3 separate regions of the Homo sapiens genome follow, and all the other regions are linked to region 2. The links are contacts of gene promoters, found by promoter capture Hi-C in blood cells and fetal thymus (Javierre and others, 2016). All regions are on one chromosome and are shown on one strand. The core of a region is centred on a gene start or on the middle of the fragment in contact, and the rest is flanking DNA. Distances in the headings are between cores, read along the strand shown.

Region 1 (3,669 bases), core at 1,170-3,669, 480 kb before region 2:
AATATTCTGATAGGTTTTTTTTAATCATACTCCCTTCTGTCAACAGAGTTTAAATTCTTTCTTAAAAATAGGATTGCCAGCATAAAACATTATTATTACTGCTAAAAATGGTGGTAAAACATATAGCTATGTTTACTTAATTACAATATTTCATTAGATACGGTCATTATTGGCCTGCACAAATTTTCAGAATGATTTACTTCTTAAGAATTTTGAAAGCTGGGAAAGTGGTATTCTTTACTTTTAAAAATTATATTTATAGTATATGAAGACATTTTAATTGTTAAAAAATTATTCTAATAATATCAAAGTATTTTGATTAAAAGTGTAAGTCCCTTTTCCCACAGTACCACTTCTACCTCATGGGTACTACTACTAACAATTTAGTGTATATCTTTCAAACATTGATATAGATATTGATATAGAATATAGCCATTAAGTTACAGTGCTATTTCCTTTACTAGAGAGCAAAAGGTCAAATTACATTGATTTTTCTGTCATTGAGTATTCATTTGATGTCAGCAATAGAAAAATAAACAAATATATATCAAGCTCAATACCAATCACATTGGATGCTAGGACACTAGCAATGACATTTTTATCTTGCATTGGACAGCTTATGATGGAATGAGTTTGTGAGGTTCATAAGAATCAGGAAAAAAAGGGGTAATTAAAAGCAACTCTAATGACAAAATCACAATACATCATGCTTAAGTAGTTATATAAAGCCATTATTCTGTCCAGTGGGGGTAATTTTTTTCCATTTTTTCCCAACTTATGGAAATTAGTTATATATTGCTTTTTAGCATATAGAGACCTGGCTTTAAAAAGCTTCTAGATCCCTAATTACTCTTAAAGTAACATTTTGTTTCCTGTATAATTTAGAAAAAAGCCTCTGAAAGCCTATGATCCTTTTATTTATAAAAAATAAAAAAGGGGAACATAATTTATGACCAAGAATTTTCAAATGAAGTGTGTTAAGAACACACTTATTTAATCTCTGGATGAAGGGTTTGCATCCCAATTCCAAGCATAGAATCTTGGAAGGAACTGAAAAGACCTTGTAAGTAACCAAGGGCAAATTCTTTTCTTTGCCGAAAAACGAGGGAATTTTGATCCTCCCCAGAATACTGCAGGAAGAGCACCAGGATCCCAGAAGTCCTGGGTTTGGATCTCAGCTCTGTCATTCTAAGCCTGAGTTCTCTTCTTAAACTGTGGTGAGAATAGCTATGGCATGGGGATGTAGTCAATGAGATTAGTAAATTACATGAAGTAGATGTGCCTGCCCTGTCCTTATACCAAATTAGAGAAAAGAGTCCACAGTGTTTTTTCCCTTCCCCATTCCACCTTGTCTAAGGGTACAGATCTAAGTTGTAGGAAAAGGGGGGCAAGAGTCTAAATCATCTGACTTACAGGCCAGTTAGCTTCCCATGAATTTCTTTTAACCAAGCCCTGATGCCTTTCACCCTCTTCATGGAGATTATTTCCGGTCCTTAGACACACAGATGCCCCTTCACTATGAATGCCAACTGTGTTCTTGGCTGATGATGGATCATGGCAGTCCCCTTCTTCCCCTTCTATGACTTTCCTTTGCCTTCAGGATAAAGTCCACCTCCTTAACATAACCTAAAAGGCCCCTGTTGACCTCTCTACCCTCTGTGTTTCCTCTTCTCCTTAGACACTCAGACCCAGCCACACTGAACTATTCTCAAGTACTCTGTTACCTCCATGCATTTGCACAATCCCCTCACTCCTCACTAAGCAAATTCATACCGACACATTTTGTTTGTTCCAACTTAACATGTGATCCTTTCTGGGAAGTCTTACTCGACCTTGGATCTCATGCTCCTCATCATAGAACATATCCTAACACTGTGTAGTAATGGATGATTGACTTATGTGACTGCTCTGCTCAGCTACAACATCCTTGAATCTTGAAGAGACTGTGTGTTATTAATCTTAATATCTGTCACAGCTTGCACAATACTTTGCACTATAATTCTATTATTTATTTTTAGCTTTTTAGTTGAAGTAGACCATACATTCCAAAAGTTCATAAATCATGTATGTACAGCTTAATGAATTTTAACAAATAAAACTTCTGCCATAACTAGCATCAATCAAGGAACAGAACATTAGTCCAGAATCCCTCTCCATGCCCTTTTTCAGTCATTACTCCTCTTATTTCTAATACAATACAGTGTTTTTGAACTTTATATAAATGAAATCATACAGTACATATCTTCTTTTGTGTCTGCCTTCTTTTGCTCAATATTATGACTGTAGGATTCTAAAAGCTTTTTAAAAAAATGGGTAATATTGCTGTATCTAAGATTTTAATCAATGTATATGAGAGGTTTTCTATATCACCACTTCAGAAAGAAGGCAGCTATTTTGAGGCACAGATGAAATCCCTCTCTAGTGGTTGTGGTGATAGCCTGCTCAGCATTCTTTTTTGTGATTTCTATCAACCCAATTTTGTTCAGGTGTACACCCCTCTATGGAAAGCCCAAGTGACTCCCAGTGGACGGGTCTGGTTGGTAAGCTTTCTCCCCCTTGTCAGGGATTGGCTCAGGAATGGGAGTCTCCATTTCAGCCACTGAGGAAATGTTGCTGGGGTTCGAGGTATCTTTTTGCCTCCTACTCCAGGAATGCATGCAGAAGCAACCCTGTCACTCTTCTCCTGGATGTGTCATGTGTGGGCAGTAGGTTCAGACACTAAGGCTACTCTGGTCGCCTTTGTCCTTGAGGATGAAGTTGATACAAAGAGGAAGACAGAGCCAAGAATCACAAAGAAATAGGGCTTGCTACTGCATTAAGCCATCCTCGAGCCTGTGCTACCTCTAAGTTTCTAGTTACATCATGTCATCCAGCAAATTTCATTATTGCTTAATGTAGTTTGAGTTTTTTTTTTAAATACAACTAAAGGCACTTTAACTGGTATGTGTCCCAAGGACTCAGATGATTACTTGGAAGGCACATTTAATGGAATTGATGGTGATGTGAAGCTTTGATCTTGGGAAGGGGATGCGAGTCAGACAGTGAGGGATGGAGTGACATGGCATGGAGGGCTCCACCTACAACACAGGCTGAGAAGAAATCCCTCAGGAGTGAGCTATTTGCACACTGCTCACAATGCCTTGGGTTGTCAAGGCTCCATGGGTATGCTACAGACTTGAGGAACCTTTTAAGTGAAGAACGGCAACATTGTGAGTGGTGGGGATGAGGGCAGCTGCCTGTGCCAGCAGGTAGAGAAGCTTCTCCTTTCCCCCTCCCATGGAGGAAAGGACGGCCAGTGCAACAGCAGTGGTAACCCTACATGGCCCAAGGGTGTTTCTTCAGAGCACAAGGAGTGCCCTGGATGGCAAGTTGCCAGATTTTGGTAGTAGACGTGCAGGAAGACAAGGTTCTCAAGTGCTGGACACGAGGCGAAGCACAGGCATGTCAGATCCCCAGTGTTTTCCCAACACTATAGTGTGAAAATGAGAGTGATAAAAGTGGTAGGAAAGGGCCCCTCGGTGGATGGAGCTAGCTTCTCTCTCTCTCTCTCCTTCTCTCTCTCTCTCCCTCTCTCAATCTCTCTCTCTCTCTCTCTCTCTCTCCTCCTGGAGATAAGAGTAATTATATTGTCCACTAGGACTGAGAAAGCATGCCTGAGGGCGCTGGAGT
Region 2 (3,467 bases), core at 36-2,535:
TCCAAAATTTTACTTTGTATTTCTCAGTGAAAATTTTATCTTTAATACTACTAATAATAGCTAATGCTTGTATGGTATTTACCTTATGCCAGACACGGTTCTGAGTGCTTTACATTTACTTACTAATTCTCACAAAGCCATATTAAGTATATACAGTTATTCATTTAAGTAGACATGAAACTGAATCACAAACAGAGTAGGTAATTTGCCAAAGATCATGAAAGCTAGGACATGGCAGAGCTGAGATTTCACTTCAGATATCTGGCCCCAGACTCTGTGCTATTAGTGTTATGCTGCCTCTCACTTAGAAACCTTTCCTAAAACAAGAAAAGATTTTTAAAAGTGGGCTCCTTGGAAATAGATTTTGGTATTTTACATACTAAAATGACATAATCAAATATTTTAGAGTTTTACATTTTTAAATGAAACCATAAATGAACATTTTTGTTTAGAATTGTCTTATCGATAAAGTGAGAATATTATTTTTATGTTTTCTTCCCACCCCCACCAACACACAAATATATATTAAAAATATAGGTAAAACTGTTTTAATAGAGGCTTCATTATCAAACTTGGGTTTTCAAAAAAACAAATTAAAGTTACTCTTTACCTCAGATGAGCTGCTATTAGTCCCATCTGTGCAAATTTTCATATTACTTTGAATTTTATTAAAACAGAAATTGAACATAAAATATTGTACTTACCTTCTTGGGCATGTAAAACTTAAATGTGAGCATCCTGGTGAGTTTGGGATTCTTGTAATTCTAAGAAAGTATAATGCATTGTTATTAAGAAATGATCTCCAGCTAGATTACTAAATGTAATAATTTTAGTAAGAAAGGAAATATACTTACATTAATTCCATTCAAAATCATCTGTAAATCCAGCAGTAAATGCTCCAGTTGTAGCTGTGTTTTCTTTGTAGAACTTGAAGTAGGTGCACTGTTTGTGACAAGTGCAAGACTTAGTGCAATGCAAGACAGGAGTTGCATCCTGTACATTGTGGCAGGAGTTGAGGTTACTGTGAGTAGTGATTAAAGAGAGTGATAGGGAACTCTTGAACAAGAGATGCAATTTATACTGTTAATTCTGGAAAAATATTATGGGGGTGTCAAAATGTTTTACATATTACACATATTTTCAAAGACTTTACCTGTCTGAAAAAACATTACCTTCATTTTTCCTCTTCTGATGACTCTTTGGAATTTCTTTAAACCCCCAAAGACTGACTGAATGGATGTAGGTGAAATCCCTCTTTGTTACATTAGCCCACACTTAGGTGATAGCTCTAATTCATGCAATTAACGCCTTCTGTATGAAACAGTTTTTCCTCCTTTCTTTAAGGGGGTGGGGATACAAAAGTAACTCAGAAAATTTTCTTTGTCATAAAACTACACTGAACATGTGAATAGCATATTGTGGTGGACAAGAGCAAGAGTAAACAGATGAAAAGAATAAATGTTTAGATTTGTTGATAAAACAGGAAGTGTATTGGTTTCCTGTTTCAGAATGGTTTTACCTTTTTATCCACACAATGAGCTAATTGCATACAATAAGATAGATTGCTTCTTACATGTCAGCTAGAGAAATACTAAGATTAGAATACTTAAAATGCTTATTGAGCTTGAGGTACTGTTTAACGCTATTTTAATTTAAAATGATTATATATCTGTTTAAGTCTCTTAATGTCTATTGTACATTTTTTAAAGGGTGCGATTGTTAAATACTCAGAAAAAGGTTTGCATTCAAGGATACTGATGCTAGTTTTATAATAGACTTTGTATGTGTTATGTGTAAACCAGTCCATGTTTCTCGTTTTTATGTCTTTACCTCTTTAATGGATTTTTATTTATCCTCTAAATCACCTGGGACACTATGAATGTAACAATAATCGTTATGAAATATGATCTTGTTTTTAGTCAGAAGACTAGGATATTTAGGATAGGTGTTCATTCATCCTCAGTACAGTGCACAAACTGGCTGAACAATTGTACGGATATATACTTCTAATTTAACCTGGGGACACTTGAGGAGATCCTGTCTCAGAGAGAGTCCTTGTAAAGCTTCCATTCTATGGCCTTATTTATTTCTTACCTGGACTTTTTTTTTTTTTTTAAAGATGGTATTGTCTGTGTTTTTGTTTGTTTTTTTAAGACAATATTGTCTGGTCTTTAAACAGACATCTAGCACCTATAATGCCTTCAGGTATATAGAAAGAGAGAAAAGAGAACAGTGTACAGGCAGGCACTTAGTCTAATATAAGTCTTACAGACTTGTGAAGTGATGGCTCCTATTTTGCAGATTAGAAAACTGAGGCTCAGAGAAGTTAAGTAATTTGCTCTAGGTCACTCAGCCCTTATTGCCAGTAAGGGGCAGAAGAAGGATTTGAAAAGAGAATGTTCTGACTCCAAAAATCCACTCTCTTACCATTTGTATTTTTTCAAAGAACCTGATTTGTAATAGGGAAGATATGTACATACACAAGTGTAGTCCTGGGTGATAGGTGATTGCTGCCCCAAGGGAGGTGGATATAAGGAATCTTGAATAAGGAACAATTAATTTAAACTGGATTTTGAGGAGGGTGCATAGGCAGGAATGATTAAAGCAGTCTAAGGAACAGTCAAATGTAATATTTTACAAAGAACAGAGAAAAATGGTTCAATAAGAGTTTTCTATGCGTTAGGTAATGTTCGGAGAATATAAAACAAATTTAAAAATAAAGATTATAGTCCCTCAAGTAGAAAAAAAAATGAAGAAAAGGTCAGATTAGGGCCAAATCTCATGAACTTTTTATACGAAAAAATGCAAAATGTCTCTATACATTTCAGATCAAAATCACATTAACGCTGTTATAAGGGGCAGGCTATTTGGTAGTCTGTGTGTTATTTATTTAATATAATAAAGTACAGCTTTATTATACTTGTTTTGCTTCTCTAAAGAGTTTCAGTGTCTAATCCCAGCATCATCACTCAGGCCTTTACCCTTCCAGAATGGAAGAATTCAAGCCCACACATTTTCCTATGTGGGGGCTTTTCCAATGAGGTATTTGATGTTCTCCAGTCTTGATATTTCTATTTCTCTGGCTATTTCCATTAGAGAATGGGGCAATATATGGCTATACTTCTGGGACCCTGTAGAAAACTGAGTTCTTAGACCCCTAGTTTATCTCTGTTAATGCACAGTAGGCACCATTATAGAAGTTGGCTTTTTCATTTCTTTCTTGAAATACGTGTGGAAAAGCTACATTCGCTGTGACATACTTTCGCTTTCTCACGTCTGACACATCAGCTGGCTTTTCTGGTTGTGGCAGTAAAGTCACTAGTAGACTGCTAACTACCACGTGTGTCATACCCCCTGCTTCTCCTTTTACTATGCAGAATTTTACTATTAAACAAGAAGCTATTTTTAGTTGCTTAGCATTGTTTGTGACTTAGCCTCTTAGACTCAAGAGTGGCCCAAGTCCTTTC
Region 3 (3,279 bases), core at 31-2,530, 430 kb before region 2:
GACTCAGTCTCAGAAAAAAACCAAAAACCAAAAACCGAAACAAAAACAAAGGTGGAGAGATCAAAGTATAGTCATTGGTCACTTAACAGGGACACGTTCTGATAAATACATTGTTAGGCAATTGCATCATTGTGCAAACGTCTTAGAGTGGACTAATACAAACCTAGATGATACAGCCTACTACACACCCAGGCTATATGGGATAGCCTATTGCTCCTAGGGTACAAACCTATACAGCATCTGCAAGGAATTGCCTACTAAATACTGTAAGCAATTATAACACAATGGTGTGTGTGTATCTAAACATAGAAAAGGTGACAGGAAAGATATATGATGTTATAGTCTTACCGGACCACCATCATATATGTGGTCTGTCATTGACCAAATTTTCATTATGTGACACATGACTGTGTGACCAAATGTTAAAGTCTATTAAAGTTGGTGATAGATGCATACATACAGTTATTATGTATTTTATTTTCTGCTTTCTTCTGTACATTGGAAATATGTCATAATAAAAATTATTTAAGTTTTTTAAGAACTGAGAGGAAAAGGGAATTATGCAAACAAAGATGCAGAAGTAGAAATGAATGCAATCTGGTAGCTTTGATCTGATTTGATCTCACCAAAGGGAGTGTGACAGTGAACAGCAAAAAATGAGGTTGGGTGCAAGGATGTAGATTTTTTTTTTTTTTGAGACGGAGTCTTGCTCTGTCGCCCAGGCTGGAGTGCAGTGGCGTGATCTCGGCTCACTGCAAGCTTTGCCTCCCGGTTTCATGCCATTCTCCTGCCTCAGCCTCCCAAGTAGCTGGGACTACAGGACCCCGCCACCACGCCCAGCTAATATTTTTGTATTTTTAGTAGAGACAGGGTTTCACCATGTTAGCCAGGATGGTCTCGATCTCCTGACCTCGTGATCTGCCCACCTCGGCCTCCCAAAGTGCTGGGATTACAGGAGTGAGCCACCGCGCCCAGCCTAGTGCAAGGATGTGGATGAATGGGAATCACATGTCAGTTAACTGCTGCCTTTCAAACTTCTTAAGTGGTGCCAAAGAACTTATTCTATTCTTCCTCCTTAGAATTTTGAATTTCTGTATTTGTGGAGAAAAATTGTTCACATCCATTAAGTTAGAATTAGGTGGGGGAGAGAAACATTTAATCTTATTTCATAGGGAAATGGACAGCCTAAATAAAAACATTTGCTATTGTGAAAAAAATCAATGGTATTAAGAAGTGTTTATTAATGTAGCTGCCTCTATATTCAATACACTCCAGTTATCCAGCCCCCATTCCCTCCCCTAAAGTTATACATATTGTGAAGCAGCCTAAAATAGCGTCCAGTTGGACAAGTGTATGGAATGGCAGAGGGTCCCTTGGATTTTATAGTTGTGTTCCATTCATTGAATTAAACAAAGAATAAATGAAATGTAAATTTACACAGTGTTGAAAGTCTATTGTTGATAAAAGGAAACAGGACAAAATGTTATAATCACAGCAAGCCGGCATTCAAGGCACTGGAAAGAATATAGAGAAAGGCACTCTCCACTCTGCTTTGTACATTTCTCATTACTGTATTAGCATCTTATAATCATAAATAACACCTTAGAAAATAACCCAGAGCACAAAAGCTCTCAAAAACATTCACTGTATCATCAATGCACTCTACGTAATGCATTCAGCACCCCACAGGCATGCCATTAAATCACAGTAATAGGAAAACAACAACAAATGCTTGCCTGAAACACAAGATTTTTGCAACTGAGGATGGGGATTACTTTATTCTTTCAAGCCTTTATTGTATAAAGCTTGGATAGATTAGCTGTATTAGAACCTATGTTAAAATAGAAGCTACAGTGATGGCTGTCTATTGAGCAAATGGGGTCACAAACCTATCCTCAAAAAGTTTTCAAAAGGGGGGATTTATTTAAAAAGTGTACCCAATGTCACACAATTGGTATGCATCTGGTACACATTTTACTGTGTTAATAGTGATTTGGGAAACACTGTACCATTCCCCTGAATTTTCCTCATAGACACCTAAGTCAGAGCTGAACCTCGTAAACACTCTCTCTCACCGTATCTTCATATACAGTCATTTCCCCAACCATTAGGCTTTCTGAGTTTACCTTTATGAAGTTTTTAGAATATCTCAAGGAATAAAACTTCCGCCAGTTATCACGGAATTTCTCCATTCAGATAATCTTCCTCCTATCCAAAATTAAATAATCAAAATTTTAAAAGGAGAATCTTTTCTTATTCTATTCTACTTTGCTTACCAAGTTCTGATGTTTTCCAGGCACCATTTATTTTCCTTCTTCCTTGTATTTATAACCTTCAGAGTGACATGTGAATAGTCCCTAATAAGTTTCTCCTAGCTAATGTGTTTAGTTCCTTTCCTTTCATTATACTATTTAAACCTGACATTCATTAAACTATTCCTGTGTTTTTTGCTAAACTTTTCCCTTTCTCTTCAACTTTCTGGCACTTGTTTTTAGTACTATGATAGAAAAATAATAGAACATGTTTTTAGCAACAACTTTGGACTACATGTTTAAATGTAGCTTTCAGATATATAGATTTAGATGCAGTATTCCAGATGTAGTCTACTAGGTCATATTACATTACATGAGTGTTTTCCTGATTGCTAAAATGGATGTTGTCCACTCAGGGGAGCAGGTTACCCAGATTTTCCTTATTATCTCTCCTTCAATCTCAGGCTCTCTTCAATCCGTTCTATGACTGTGTATCCTTATTTTAAATAAGTCTTTGAACATATAATCTACATATTCAATGTTTGGCTTTTGCTTATGCTTTTTTAGTATTTATGCCTATTTTCTTAATATTTATTTATTAGGTTTCTAAACCCTCCCCCAACCTTTGCTTTTCTTTTTTTTCATGAATTTTTTTTATTATACTTTAAGTTCTGGGATACATGTGCAAAACACGCAGGTTTGTTACATAGGTATAAAAGAGCCATGGTGGTTTGCTGCACCCATTAACCTGTCATCTACATTAGGCATTTCTTCTAATGCTATCCCTCCCCTAGCCCCCGACCCCTGACAGGCCCTGGTGTGTGATGTTCCCCTCCCTGTATCCATGTGTTCTCATTGTTCAATTTCCACCTATGAGTGAGAACATGCGGTGTTTGGTTTTCTGTTCCTTTGCTGAGAATGATGGTTTCCAGCTTCATCCATGTCCCTGCAAAGGACATGAACTAATCCTTCTTTATGGTTGCAGAGTATTCCATGGTGTAGATGCGCCACATTTTCTTTATCCAGT

What was found. Contacts are between HindIII fragments. The CHiCAGO score rates a contact against its expected background, and 5 or more counts as called.
Region 1: a fragment that was not itself captured here is called in contact with the fragment with the promoter of IL2 in region 2 in 1 of 17 cell types (endothelial precursors); the score reaches 5.5 in endothelial precursors.
Region 3: a contact is called between a fragment that was not itself captured here and the fragment with the promoter of IL2 in region 2, in 1 of 17 cell types (endothelial precursors). The highest score is 5.3, in endothelial precursors.

What each region holds. Positions count from the first base shown.
Region 1 is chr4:121,974,092-121,977,760 of GRCh38, forward strand. The region is part of intron 1 of LOC102724158 (a long non-coding RNA gene); the gene reads left to right. Among named protein-coding and RNA genes, the nearest start is that of TRPC3, 24 kb to the left of the region's middle. The HindIII fragment of the contact is 248 bases long and covers 2,296-2,543 here.
Region 2 is chr4:122,455,440-122,458,906 of GRCh38, forward strand. IL2 (interleukin 2) reads right to left here and starts at 1,286. Exons shown (of 4, transcript NM_000586.4): 1 at 855-1,286; 2 at 705-764. The coding sequence starts at 1,001. RefSeq lists an enhancer at 3,272-3,331. The HindIII fragment of the contact is 2,130 bases long and covers 1-2,061 here.
Region 3 is chr4:122,025,793-122,029,071 of GRCh38, forward strand. No RefSeq gene overlaps it. Among named protein-coding and RNA genes, the nearest start is that of TRPC3, 75 kb to the left of the region's middle. The HindIII fragment of the contact is 1,046 bases long and covers 758-1,803 here.